5 separate regions of the Homo sapiens genome follow, and all the other regions are linked to region 5. The links are contacts of gene promoters, found by promoter capture Hi-C in blood cells and fetal thymus (Javierre and others, 2016). All regions are on one chromosome and are shown on one strand. The core of a region is centred on a gene start or on the middle of the fragment in contact, and the rest is flanking DNA. Distances in the headings are between cores, read along the strand shown.

Region 1 (2,700 bases), core at 133-2,632, 140 kb after region 5:
TCGGGGGAGAAGGCAAGTTCAAAACTGCACTGGCGAGAACAAGCTTGGCGTGTTTGGAGAAATCCGAGTGTGGTGAAGTATTGTGAGCAGGGAGACTTAGGAGATCAGATGGGAGATGTAGCTAGGACCAGAATACGAAGATCTGGAAAGGTTTGGTAAAGAGTTTGGACTCTTATAAGTGCAATAGGAAGCCAGCTGGAGATTTCAAGCAGGAGAATGTCCTTATTCCATTTGTTTCCAAAAAACTGTGATGCTAAGAGTGTATGCAAGAGAAATGAAAACATATGCCCCCATAAAAACTTGTACATGAATGTTTATACCAGCATTATACCAGCATGTTTATGATGAATGCATAAACAAAACAGCATTATACCAGAATGTTTATGATGAATGCATAAACAAAACATGGTTTATCCATACAATGGCATATTGCTTGTCCGTAAAAAGAAATAAAGTACTGATACATGCTACAACATAGATGGACCTGAGAACATTAAGAGAAAGAAGCCAGTCACAAAAGGCTACATATTGTATAATTCCATTTACGTGAAATGTGCAGAATAGGCAAGTATATATATAAACAGAAAGTAGACTGAAATTTGCTTAGAGCTGGTGGGAATAGAGAGATTGGAGAGGGTGGTAGCTAAAGGGTATAATGCTTCTTTTTGATGCGATGAAAATGTTCTAAAATTGATTGTGGTGTTGGGTGCACAACTCTGTGAATATACTAAAAGCTATTAAATTACACACTTTTAAATGGTTGAATCTCAATAAAGCTGTGGCCCAAAAAAGATTGTGATAAACCCTATAGAAATCCTGAAACTTTCTTCCTGGGTTGACCAAGAGAAGTTTAATAGAGAAGTCATCATTTGAGTTCGCAGTAAAGTATGTGAGAAAATTAGGGGAGAAAAATCTTGCATTTGTAAAATGCATGATTAATTGTCAAGTAATTTTCCAATCTATTTTCCAAGGGACATTATTTTTGTTCTGCAATAAAGATGCTATTAATGGTCACGTAAATTTGAGAAATAGTCATATTTCTTTCTTGGAGATTCACAATGAACTTTATCAGCCTACTAAAAAGTTCTGAGTAATTCTGCAGCTTCTGAGGCTCAGAATAAAAGTGTCTGCTCAAAAGAATTTGAGGCTAAATCACTGGACAAAGTTCTCTCTCATCTCAGCATTAAGGTGACAGGAAGACAGAGCACTTTTTGGAAATGGAAAAGGAAGATACAGTCAAGGAAGACCTGGAATAACACCACAAATGTCTAAACTTATCAAAAAGACAGGAGTATCTCAATTGCTGTGCTCTGAGGGCAGAGATGGAAATCACAAACGTGCCAATATAGGAGCAGAATGAAAGGTCGAAAGAGATTTCCAACTGAATTTAACCCCATAGGGCTTTGGCATCCTAGTAAAACTTGAAACACAGACTTTGTGAATGCTTCTTCTCTCAGATACTTCTGAGTCTCTGCTCTGGTCTTTGCCTGGCAGCAGAACTCTGGGTCTAGGCTGCACTGACAGCTGGGCACTCAGAACCAAAGTGAGGCATGTGAGAAACTTTGGATTGCATTAATTGAAAATCAGAGTTGCTGTGGGAACTCCCAACTCTACTTAGGAATGATATTCGTGTAGTTTTTACTCAACAAATATTTATGGAGCACTTGCTGTGTGCCAGGTGCTGTTCTAGGTACGGGTATACAGCAGGGAGCAAAACAGAAAAAAATTCCCTGCCCTCATATGACCAATATTCTAGTGCAATGGACAAAAATAAGAGGAAATATACATGGTAAAAGGCCTTTGTGGAAAGATAATTTTGTCTTTTTTTGAGATGGGGTCTTGCTCTGTTGCCCGGCTGGAGTGCAACAATGCAGTCATAGCTCACTGCAGCCTCAACTTTCTGGGCTCAAGCAATCCTTCTGACTCAGCCTCCTGAGGAGCTGGGACTACAGGCATGCACCACCACACCTAGCTAATTTTTTATTTTTTGTGGAGATGGGGTCTCACTATGTTGCTCTGGCTAAGAAAAGGGGATTTTTGATAAAAGACTTAAAGGAAGTAAGGAAGCCAGCTTCAGAAGGAATAGTAGATGTAAAGACCCTAATGTTGAAAACATGCCTGGTGTGTTCAAGGAAGAGCAAGGAGGCTGGTATAACCAGAGCTCAGAGAGTAGGGGGAAAGTAGTAAAAAATGAGGTCAAAGAGAACACAGGAAGTCAGATCATGGGGTTCTTACAGGTCATAATAAGGACCTCACTTTTTACTCTGAATGGGACCGTAAGCCATGGAGAGTTTTGAGCAGGGGAGTGACATGATTAGACTCAGATTTTAACAGGATCACTCTACCTGCTGTGTGAAGAGACAGGAGGTAACAATGATAGAAATTAGGAGAACAGTAAGAGGCTAATGCAATGATGTGAGAGAAGGAAGAGAAAGGTGGGTGGGACCAGGTTAGTGGTAGTGGCAGTAATAAAAAGTTACTGAATTCTGAAGATATCTCAACAATGGCCCGGTTGTTTAAAAAAAACTGAATTCTGAAGATATTTTGAAGGTTGAGCTAACACAATTTATAAATGGAGTGAGGATGTCCATTTAAGAGTGACACTAAGTTTTAACCTGAGAAACTCAAAGGATTGAATTGTAATAAGCTGAGCTGGAGCAGATTGAGAGGAATGGTTTGAAGGAGTGAACTTATCAGGGC
Region 2 (2,700 bases), core at 22-2,521, 220 kb before region 5:
AAACAATACTTGGCATGTGATAGGTATCCAATAACTGTTTTAAAATAAATGAATGTACTTGAAAAAAAATTACATGATGCTTCAAAAACATCAAAGCTGAAAATCATTTGAGTAACTTTAAAATGTAAGCAATCAATAATAAAAGATTACTATATTGTTCAGCAGTCACATAAAGTATTAAAACTAATATTTCAGTATTTGAATATGCCGACAGTAATGTTTTCATAAACTAGATTTTGTGTCTAACTCCTCAGGTTTGGAACTGTTTTTAGTAAGACCATAATGCATTGCAAGGATTTCTAATGAATATGTTTAGTAGTTCAAGCCCTTATTAAATTTCACAGATAAAAGCAAATGTATGCTGAACTTTAAGGACTGAGGTAATATAAGACTGAATTGAATGTAATAAGGCGGCAGTGTAGTGGTGGCATTAAAAAAACTGAAGATTCAAAAAGTATAAATTCAAGAATAACATGCAAGTAGCATTCTTTTTTTTAATTTTACACTTGTTAGATTTTGTCTTAGTCCCTTTGTGTTGCTATAAAGGAATACCTGAGGCTGGATATTTACAAAGAAAAGAGGTTTATTTGGCATATGGCGTCTACATCTGGTAAGGGCCTCAGACTCATGGCAGAAGGCAAAGAGGAATCAGTGTGTGCAGAGATCACATGGTGAGAGAGGAAGCAAGGGTGGAGGCGGGGAAGGCCATGCCAGGCTCTTTTTTTTAATAACCAGCCCTTGTGGGAACTGAATAGTGAGAACTCACTCATTCCTTACCCTCAGGCCTTAATCTATTCGTGAGGGATCTGCCCCCATGACTCCGACACCTCCCATTAGGCATAACCTAATGGGGATCAGATTTCAACATGACATTTGGAGGGGTTAAACATTCAGACAATAGCAGATATCTAATGTTCAGCTATTTTAAGAGCAGTGAGTGAAACTAGAAGAATCAGAGGAACATAAACAATTATAAAAGCTTCGATTACTAAAAAAGGATAAAAGACAAAGTTGATTAAAGAGTTATCCTTAAATATGTGGGTGTTACGCAAAAGGTGTACTGATCAACTTTTTTCCATCACATAAAACAAAATTTAAATGGTACATAAAAACATTAACTTACCCGCTTTCAGAGTGATTAAATGTTAGAGCAGGTTGACATTGGAATCTGTGGACTCAACTAATTGGTGTTCGGCCAGAGAACAGTTTATCTTTTCTGGCTAGTTTGAGTTCAGTGCTGTTCAAATTTGAGCAATAGTTAAAATATATTTTGAGACCCTCTTCAGTTCTAGGAGAAAATAGATTTTGTATTCAAGACCTTAATACTAAGCTGCTGGTCTGAACCTCTTTAAATAAACTCAGGTTTTGTTAGTCTTTAAGAAAGAGCTAGTATGTTATTATGTCTCACAGAGTGATTTATTTTTGTTCTGGAATATGCTTTGGAAAGTAGGGTTTGAAATTAGAAAATTATTTCACTTTTTGTTTGTTTGTTTGCTTGCTTGTTTTAAGATTGTTCCAGGACACGAAGGGAGATTCTTCCAGGTTACTGAAAGCACTTCCTTTGAAGCTTCAGCAAACAGCTTTTGAAAATGCATACTTGAAAGCTCAGGAAGGAATGAGAGAAATGGTAATTTTAAGTAACATGTATTTGCTGTTATCATATGCTTGCTATGAATATCCCATAAATTACTTCACCAAGTTTGGTATAAGAGAGTTTATAATCCAGTAGTTTACAGTATAAAGCTGCTCTAAAACAACTGTATGAATTGATTGAAACTGCATTCTTTCTGGGTCACAATGGGTCAAATCATAGCAATTTCTTTTGGTTTAGCATTTTTATGGAGAAACCCAAAATTTAACTGAGTTTTTATGGGAGTATAAATGGCTCCCTTTTTTATTTTAAAAATCCTTTTATATGTGATCTGATTAAAAGCTAATTAAGGGAACAGGTGACAATGGGAAGAAATGGATTGAGGAGAAGAATCTCACACAAAATCAAATCATTGTGGTGTTTACAGTGAAACTTGTGATATTTCACGTTTCTGTAGAATAATATATTTTTTATGGTAATGATTATCTTAGAGTTCAAATTTTTTCATTTATTTATGCCCTGGTTTGTTTCTTACAAGTATTTAAGGTAGTTAAATAACTGTCAAGTCTGTGATAGCAGGAAATTGAAAGGAACAATTGAAAGAATGTGAGTTTAGAAAAGAATTTCAATAGATTAGAAAGATAAGTGTAAATAACATAAAATCTAATGAGATAATGTATATTATACATTTTAAATCAGCCTGTCATCTGCAAAAAGGGAAAATACTGATCTGACAGCAATTCATTTAGAAAAAGACCTAGGAAGTTTTGTATCTTGTGATTATAGTATGAATCAACATTGTATTACAGTTACCAAAAAGGCTAACTCTGTCTTACACTGCATTAATAGAAGCATATTGTCATGAACAAAGTTAATACAAGAACTTGGATCTTTTATACTTTTTGCTTTATTTTTAGATCTTTTAATTTTTATGGGTACATAGTAGGGGTGTGTGTGTGTGTGTGATACGGGTATACAATGTGAAATAATCACATCATGGAGAATGGGGTATCCATCCCCCAAACAAATATCCTTTGTGTTACAAGCAATCCAATTACACTGTTTTAGTTATTAAATGTTTCTGTATTTTTTAGAGGATAACTATAATG
Region 3 (2,700 bases), core at 100-2,599, 140 kb before region 5:
GATGGAGTTTCACTCTTGTCGCCCAGGCTGGAGTGCAATGGCACGATCTCAGCTCCATGTATCCTTCACCTCCCAGGTTCAAGTGATTCTCCTGTCTCAGCCTCCCGAGTAACTGGGATTATAGGCACCTGCTACCACACCCAGCTAATTTTTGTATTTTTAGTGGAGACAAGGTTTCACCATGTTGGCCAGGCTGGTCTCTTAACTCCTGACCTCAGGTGTCAGGCCTCCTCAGCCTCAAGGTGCTGGGATTACAGGCGGGAGCCACCACACCCAGCCTAAAAATTTTTTAAATATAAATATATCATCTCCATTTTAAATTATACCAGTAGTTACTTCATTTTTAAAAATCACCCTTTAACCTAGATTTCTCTAGTTGGGTTAAGAAGTAGTTAGGTTATTTGGATTTGAGGTGGATCTCACAGACAGTGACAAAGATGAGGAAGGCAGCCAGAGCAGAAGTAAACTACTGTACATACTAGTGTTCATAGAACGTAGGTAACATGTGGTTTCTTGCCTTTGTAAAGTTCACATTCTAACTGGAAAGAAAGTAAATTAGCTGTCAAACCTCCTAACTTCACTGTATTCTTTACTTTAGGTGTTGCTTTTGAACAGGGCAAAATCCTTCCTACTCCTGAGACAGTTCCTTTTAGACTCACCAGAGATATTGTGGATGGCATGGGCATTACGGGTGTTGAAGGTGTCTTCAGAAGGTAAGTGATATGAAGTAAAGGAGGGAAATAATTTTTGATGTCAAAATTACATGGGCTGGGCATGGTTCTTTGCACCTGTAATCCCAGCTGCTCAAGAGGCTGAAGTGGGAGGATTGTTTGAGCCCAGGAGTTTGAGTCCAGCCTAGGCAATACAGCAAGACCCTGTATCTAAAAAAATACACACACACAAACACACACACACACACACACACACACACACACACACGGGTTAGAGATTTGTATAGATTATAGAATTTAGTGCTAGAATCGTATTCCAGTGCCTTATCAATACTAAGGAAAAGACCCTGGGTAAAAGCAATAATAGTTCCTCTTCCTTCCACCCACCTGGGACCTAAGCCCATGTAACATACATACTGTTATTCCAAACCTCCTCTGGAAGCATCCCACCTTTACTTTTAACACCTCTATCCTGGCTGACTCCTTCTTAATGATCCAAACTACTATTGGGTGCTCATCACTGTGCATATAGAAGAGACTACATTTTTATTTATAGGAGCTTGTGTTCTAGTATAACATTGTGCTACTAAAAAAGCTTTGCAGTTCCTTGTAGTTTTCCCAGCATAGGTCTGTGTACTCAACTTGGATTGGGGCAGATTGCAGTCAGTGTAAACTAATAATTGCCACAATAATCAAAGACTGAGAGCTGAGCCCAGTGGTGCATGCCTGTAATCAATAGTGTTGTGTTATTCTTGTAAATGCCAAGCTTGTGAAATAGTCAAATACATATTTGTATTCATTTCAAACGTCTAATGAAAGCCCACTCTGCCAAGTATTATGCTATTTTGAGATACAGATATGTAGATTATTAAGCATAGGCTCAGCATACTACACATGAGAGTATACAGATAAAGATACGTTGACAACATTGGTGTGTAACAAAATCCGTATTTATAATGTGTTTGACTCTAGATGCTGTGAGAAAACCATGGAAGTGATGAGAAACTCTCAGGAAACTCTGTTAACCATTGTAGAGGTAAAGTATTTTATAAGGAAGACTTTATTTTTTTTCTTACCAGGTAGACTGTGTATCTCATCAGGAAGTCACTGATGTGAAGAGCACTGCTTCATTTTAACATAGGGGGATGTGGCTGGGCAGCAGAAAGGAGGAGATTGTGCACTTAGCCTTTTCACACATCCAAAAATACTGGTTTAGAAATGCCTTCAGCCCCCTTGAGTTTCTTGGAATGTTAGAGCATTGTAAGTAGTCTCTAGTTTTCAATTCATAAATCAATTCTTTGACATTTAGATATTCCATATGGTATTATTATTTTCAGAATGGTTTCCATTAGGGTTTAAGAAAAATCAGAAATTTATATCTCCTTTTTCCCTGCTCAGGTTCAGAACTAATTAGTCAGACAAATGGAGATCAAATTGTCAGCATCATTACTAGAGGAACATGGCTTAGGAATGAGGGCCAGACTAGTTTACTGCTGGTGCTACCTCAGTACCTCTCTGCTGTCTTAACTTTGGGACAGCTCACCTGAATAGGGTTTGGGCCTGCAGAGCAAACACATGTAATCAGGATCACTGCCTTGTCTTGATCCAGGGCAGAAAAAAGGAAGTCAAACAAATTTCAGTGTCTGTGCTGTTAGTACCTATGCCAGTCATTCACCAATCTGGTAAGGGTATGTGAGACAAGAAATCAGGAGTGTGGCCTCCCCAGGGAAGCATGGCAGGTAGAGTGCAGTATGGGCTTGCCACTTTTCCACTACTCAGCTTTTCTTCCTTTAACCTGATTTATGTTGGACTGGCTGCATGTTAGTATTACTTTTACTGCATTTAAAAAACATTGATGCTGATCAAATTCAAACCAGGTTTCTAGAGATGGGGCAGGAATATGTGCATTTTTAAAAATCTCTCCTACTGTTCAACTAGGATATGAGAACTGTCTTAATTCATTGGCATTAACCATTAAGCCTGTGGTCAATAAGGGTGGGGCTTTATCCCTTGGAAGATGAGTAACAGT
Region 4 (2,700 bases), core at 106-2,605, 160 kb before region 5:
TCTTTTATTGCAAGAAATAATGGAAGTAATTTCATGTGGGCAGGGATATATGTAATAAGGGTTATAAGTTTAGAAAATGATCATCTTAAATACATTGTCTTTCTTTTCATTTTGCAGTTTAGTGCTTAGTATCTAGTTACTTGATTTGAAATGTAGCTGTATCATGTGGATTAACTGCTGTTTTTCTAGCTATATCAGCTAGGTGATTTCGCTGAATGTTTCCTTAAAATGCCAGATTTAGCAGTTATAACCCAGAAAACTCCTTCTACTGTTTTCCAAAATTTACTTTATGTTTTCGTGAGGAGTTATTTCTCAGATGACTTTACATATATTAGTGAATCTTTGATGAAACAGTAGTTAAAGTTACGAGCGTGAGCCACCACACCCGGCCTAAAGTTGTAGTTCTTAACCACTATCACATCGTCATTTGTTTCTCTGTTTAATATTAAAATTGCCATTTATAATGTATTTTTCTTTAAGTGCAAATAGTGTATCTGACCTATTATCAATCATGTTTATACTTTTATTAGGTGGACCACACAGGAGAATATGGAAATCTGGTGACTATACAGTCATTTAAAGCAGAATTTCGCTTAGCAGGAGGTGTAAATTTACCAAAAATAATAGATTGTGTAGGTTCCGATGGCAAGGAGAGGAGACAGCTTGTTAAGGTGAGCCTTCCCTTCTCTGGCTTAGCCCTTAGAGTTTTAGTGATGAAAATTTTTAGTTCATATTTTCTTTCTGCTTTATTTGGGATTTTGTCTTTATTTTGAATACTTACAAATGAGGAAGATTTGTAGAGTAGAAATGCATTATTTTCTAGAACCAGGCTTTTCTCCATTTTTTTTGTGTCTCTGAAAGACAATCATTATTATATGGTTGATTCAAGTAAAAGAATACCATTAACATGTACAGACATGTACAGTGAGGTTGCTTCTTATGAAAAAAAATACTTTGGTGTCTGTCTCTTATTTCCTTGAATAGTGCAAGTTGACGTCCTTTGCATCAGTATACCGGGTCTCGTACTGTGCCAAGTGCTATTTAATGTACCAAAAAGGGAGAGCATTCTTCCCTTACCATTTGCTGACGAGCTCTTTGGGTCCTACTGGGGAGTGGTGGAAAGACACAGTGCTGTTTTACTCAGGTGTTTGCAGTATGCCTTCCTAGGGGGGACTTCCAGTTAATCTAATTACAGAAGTAGCGAGGGGAAACTTTCTAAATCAGTGTAAATGTTGTAGCTTATTCTAAATGAAAGAATGGCAGTAGGTATTTAATTATTTGGGAGACTGTCAAGAGGTGCACAGATGCTCAGATTGGTTTGAGTGCCCTTTGCTATTCTCAGATGACTCTGTGTTTTTATAATAAAATAAACTGTACTTGTTTATTCATGCTTAATTATTCTGAAGGGCCGTGATGACCTGAGACAAGATGCTGTCATGCAACAGGTCTTCCAGATGTGTAATACATTACTGCAGAGAAACACGGAAACTAGGAAGAGGAAATTAACTATCTGTACTTATAAGGTAACTATTTGTACTTCTGTTAGTTCACCAAAAACATATAAAAGATGCCATTTGGTTGGGTGAAGTGGCTCATGCCCATATTCATAATGCTTTGGGAGGCCAAGGTGGGAGGATTGCTTGAGGCCAGGAGTTCGAGACCAGCCTCAGCAACATAGTGAGACCCCATCTTGACAAAAAGTTAAAAAAAAAAAAAAAGCCAGAGATGATGGCATGTGCTTGTAGTCCCTTAGCTACATGGGAGGCTGAGGTGGGAGGATCACTTGAGTCCAGGAGTTTGAGGCTGCAGTGAGCTCAAACTCTGCAGTGAGCCCCAGTCCAGCCTGAGCAACACAGCAAGATCCCGTTTAAAAAAGAAGAAGAAGAAGAAGATGCCATTATTTGGACCAGGAGTCTACAAATGTTTTCTGTGAAGGACCAAATAATAAAGATTTATTTTCTTTGTAAAAAGTATTTATTAATGTTAATTATAGTTAGGTGTTTCTTATAGTCAACTGAAGTATTTTTTCCTTTTTTTTCTACTCAACAATATGTCACAGAAATCTTTCTCATTTTTTAACAGCTGCATTGTGTGTATGTATGTAGTTTTTTATACAAGTCCTTATCGATGGGCATTTGTGTTGTTTTCAGTCTTTTGCTGCTACAAACAACGCTGTATTGTAGTGAATAACCTTGAACATACAAATTTCATACATGCGCAGGCAAATTTGTAGCATGGATTTCCAAAAGTTGGATTGCTGGGTTAGAGGATACATGCATCTGTAATCTGGTACATATTGCCAAATTACTCTCAATGGGAGTGTACCCACTTACATTTCCTCTAGCTATTTGCCTGAGAAGACAATCCTCAGTCACATTCTATGAGCTGATCATCTTTGACTCTTATATTAATTATTCATTTAACCAGTTTAGAAATAACAATAAATCCTTATTTTGAAGGGCCTATTTTCCATAGGTTTGTCTTTTGTGATTTCATTCCTGTACCTCATTTTTAAACTTTCTCCTTCTATAAATGTTGTAACAGGGACTATGGGTGACATGTGCTTTTTTATATATTTCTAGTTTTCCACTATGAACGTGTTTTATTTTTAAAATAATGGCTAAATTAAAAGCCCTAAATAGGGGAGTGAAGAAGAATAAATTAGATCTACCCTCCAAAATGCTGCTTGAGTTAGGCTAT
Region 5 (2,700 bases), core at 200-2,699:
GCTTCTGCACATGCCATGGCGTCCTTCTATATGCCTGCCCAGCAAACCTTCTCATCCTTCAAGTCTCTGCTCCTGAAATCTTCCTGGATTTCTCCAGTCTCTGGCAGTGCTTCAATGTTGCCACTGCACTCTGTACATACCTTCAATTATCTTGTACAGTGATCAGTTATTTGCATGTCTTTGACCAACAGACTGTAAGTTCCTTGATGGTCAGGCATTGTCTTTTCATCCTTAGATTCCCAGCAGAATTACCAAACACAGAAGTAGACATCAAAGAAGTATTTCTTGAATGAATGAAATTTTAAAAATCATTAAATCTAAAAGTGAATTATGTTTGGTTCCTAAATTCTCTGCTTTGCCCAGCTGTCAAGACCCCCTTACCCCTTTCCCAAGTTGGGACACACTTCTGGCAGCTATGTTCCCAGCTGGACTAGCAGGGGCAGAGGCACTGGTTTATTCTAATTGTCTCTTCGCTGATACAACAAGGTGCTAGTTGGCCAGAGCCCCAAATTATACATTAGCAAATCCTGACTGACAACAGCGTGAAACCAGCAGGACAAGTTTTAAGAAGTTGCAAAGGTTAAGACGTGAAGGACAACGTGGGAGGAGGACCGGGCAGAAAGGGATTCAGGACGAGATCCATCTCACCCTCCGTGGAGGGAAAACCGAATGATTTCTACTGAGTTTCCCTAGTTCCTGTAATCTGCTTTCAAAAACTCAGAACTAAAAAGGAAACAAAAAACTAACACGTAAACCCCTCCTCCTTCCTACGGCTCTGACATTTCCTCTGCGTAGGATTTCGTTGCTCCAAACCCACCAGGCCTAAGCCATGTAATCCGACGCGATCCGTCGGCTTGATGACTCACCACTGGAAAGCGCTCCCTGCAATCCCTCACAGTTCAGACAACTAAGTCCGAGATGGAAGGCAACGTGTGACTCACGGCACACTCCTTGTAACGCCCGGGCGCCGTCCATTCGCAACATCAGTCCCTGCACATTAAATGCGGAAGGGCCCTTCAAGTTCATTCATTCATTCATTCCACAAACTTTCGTGGTGATTTTTGCCCGCTTTGAGTATGGGCGGGAGGAGGGAAGAGGAGCTGACCAGACCCAAAAAGGGGCGACACACGCCGGGGAGGGACGCCACGCAGGCCGCGGGCGGACTCCCGGGCGGCGGGGACGCGCGGGGACCCGGCCGCGGGACGAGGGAGGCCGGCGGCTGGACACTACCTGCGGGAGAGCGAGTGAGGTTCTGGCCCTCCGAGTTGACCGCCTGCAGGTAGAAATAGCGGACCGGCAGGACGACGGCCGCCTGCAGCCCGGGCCCCCACACCAGGCTCCGCGGCGCGCTGACCAGCACCTCCGGGGCCCCCGCGGCCACCAGCAGGGCGAGGCGCAGCTGCAGCAGCAGGGCCCGCGGGAGGCGGCGCATGGTCGGCGGGGCACAACTGCGGTCCAGCTCCGCGGCGGCGAGGAGGGGCCGGCAGCGCCGCGGACCGGGCGGGGACTGGGGCCCACCGCGGGGCGGGTCTTTCGGGCGGGAAAGATTGCGGCGCAGGCTCCCTTTCCCGCCCGCTGTCCCGCCTCGTCTCCCTCGGGCGGGAACGCGAGCCAGTGCCGCAATCACCCACTGCGCGCCCTGTAGGGGTCGACGATGGGTGCGCCCCTTCCTCCCCGCAGCCCCATAGGCCCCGTGGAGGAAAGGGGTGGAGAGGCCCGCCCAGAGACCGAGGCTGCGAGTGTGCGCTGGCTGTTGATTGCCAAGGCTTCAGGCACGCCTGGCCTCCACTTCCAGTGGTCTTTCCCTTTCTTTTTCTTCCTTCCTTTCCTTCTTTCTTCTCTTTTCTTTCTCTGTTTTTATACAGACAAGGGGGCTGGCTCTGTCGCCTAGGCTGGAGTGCAATGGCGCGACCACAGCTCACTGCAGCCTGGAACTCGTGGGCTCAGGAGATCCTCCCGCCTCAGCCTCCCGAGTAGCTGGGACTGACTGTAGGCACACGACACCACGCTGGCTAATTTAATTTATTATTATTATTATTATTATTATTATTATTATTATTATTACTATTACTATTTGTAGAGACGGGGTCTCCCTATGTTGCCCAAGGTGGTCTTGAACTCCTGGTTTCAAGCAATCCGCCCGCCTCGGCTTCCCAAAGTGCCGGGATTACAGGCATGAGCCACCGGGTCCGCCGCTCAGGTGTTTTTAAAGGACGTAGACCCGGTGGTGATTGTTGTGGGACGATGAAAGGGTCCGGCCCCAAGATCGATGTAGTTTAGGGAAATATCTTTTCCCAAGGAATGTCTCCGAGTTTACAAGATGAGCGCCAAGGTCACGCCCCCCGCCCTCCCTCACAGCCCTCTGTTCACAGCAGCACCGTTCTCTTGTGGCCGGTTTTGTTGCTTTTCTGCTTAGCAGCCTCCCTCACAGAACCGTGATCCCCCCACCCCACACATCCCTTTCCCCGCTTCCTCCCGCACTCCTCTTCTTCCAGCAGGTGTTTACAGAACATCCACGGAGTTTGGGCCAAGCCCAGAGTGAGGAGCTGGGCACTGGGGTGGCAGAAGACCAGGCCTTGCCTTGAGCCCTTGTGCGAGCTTTACCTCAAAGCCTCTGTAATCGAAGTGGGAGAAGGGGTGGTGGTGCGTGGTTGGTCTCAGCCACCTCCACCACTCCTCAGAAGATGAACGCTGGATCCA

What was found. The method cuts DNA at HindIII sites, captures the fragments that hold promoters and counts their contacts. A CHiCAGO score of 5 or more calls a contact.
Region 1: a contact is called between a fragment that was not itself captured here and the fragment with the promoter of POGLUT3 in region 5, in 5 of 17 cell types (naive CD4 T cells, total CD4 T cells, naive CD8 T cells and 2 more). The highest score is 7.0, in naive CD4 T cells.
Region 2: a contact is called between a fragment that was not itself captured here and the fragment with the promoter of POGLUT3 in region 5, in 1 of 17 cell types (erythroblasts). The highest score is 5.6, in erythroblasts.
Region 3: a fragment that was not itself captured here is called in contact with the fragment with the promoter of POGLUT3 in region 5 in 4 of 17 cell types (naive CD4 T cells, naive CD8 T cells, total CD8 T cells and 1 more); the score reaches 7.8 in naive CD4 T cells.
Region 4: a contact is called between a fragment that was not itself captured here and the fragment with the promoter of POGLUT3 in region 5, in 3 of 17 cell types (naive CD4 T cells, total CD4 T cells and naive CD8 T cells). The highest score is 7.3, in naive CD4 T cells.

Annotation. Positions count from the first base shown.
Region 1 is chr11:108,637,445-108,640,144 of GRCh38, forward strand. No RefSeq gene overlaps it. Among named protein-coding and RNA genes, the nearest start is that of DDX10, 26 kb to the right of the region's middle. The HindIII fragment of the contact is 2,682 bases long and covers 42-2,700 here.
Region 2 is chr11:108,277,982-108,280,681 of GRCh38, forward strand. It overlaps ATM (ATM serine/threonine kinase), which reads left to right. Exons shown (of 63, transcript NM_000051.4): 23 at 1,510-1,627. Among named protein-coding and RNA genes, the nearest start is that of ATM, 56 kb to the left of the region's middle. The HindIII fragment of the contact is 588 bases long and covers 978-1,565 here.
Region 3 is chr11:108,353,168-108,355,867 of GRCh38, forward strand. It overlaps ATM (ATM serine/threonine kinase), which reads left to right. Exons shown (of 63, transcript NM_000051.4): 60 at 599-713; 61 at 1,644-1,707. It also overlaps a transcript of C11orf65 not described here. Among named protein-coding and RNA genes, the nearest start is that of C11orf65, 110 kb to the right of the region's middle. The HindIII fragment of the contact is 171 bases long and covers 1,265-1,435 here.
Region 4 is chr11:108,334,439-108,337,138 of GRCh38, forward strand. It overlaps ATM (ATM serine/threonine kinase), which reads left to right. Exons shown (of 63, transcript NM_000051.4): 55 at 531-671; 56 at 1,407-1,523. It also overlaps a transcript of C11orf65 not described here. Among named protein-coding and RNA genes, the nearest start is that of ATM, 110 kb to the left of the region's middle. The HindIII fragment of the contact is 3,297 bases long and covers 1-2,700 here.
Region 5 is chr11:108,496,935-108,499,634 of GRCh38, forward strand. It overlaps POGLUT3 (protein O-glucosyltransferase 3), which reads right to left and starts at 1,450. Exons shown (of 8, transcript NM_153705.5): 1 at 1,231-1,450. The coding sequence starts at 1,432. It overlaps LOC112267909 (a long non-coding RNA gene), which reads left to right and starts at 2,127. Exons shown (of 3, transcript XR_007062880.1): 1 at 2,127-2,700. RefSeq lists a silencer at 1,083-1,602. The HindIII fragment of the contact is 8,220 bases long and covers 1-2,700 here.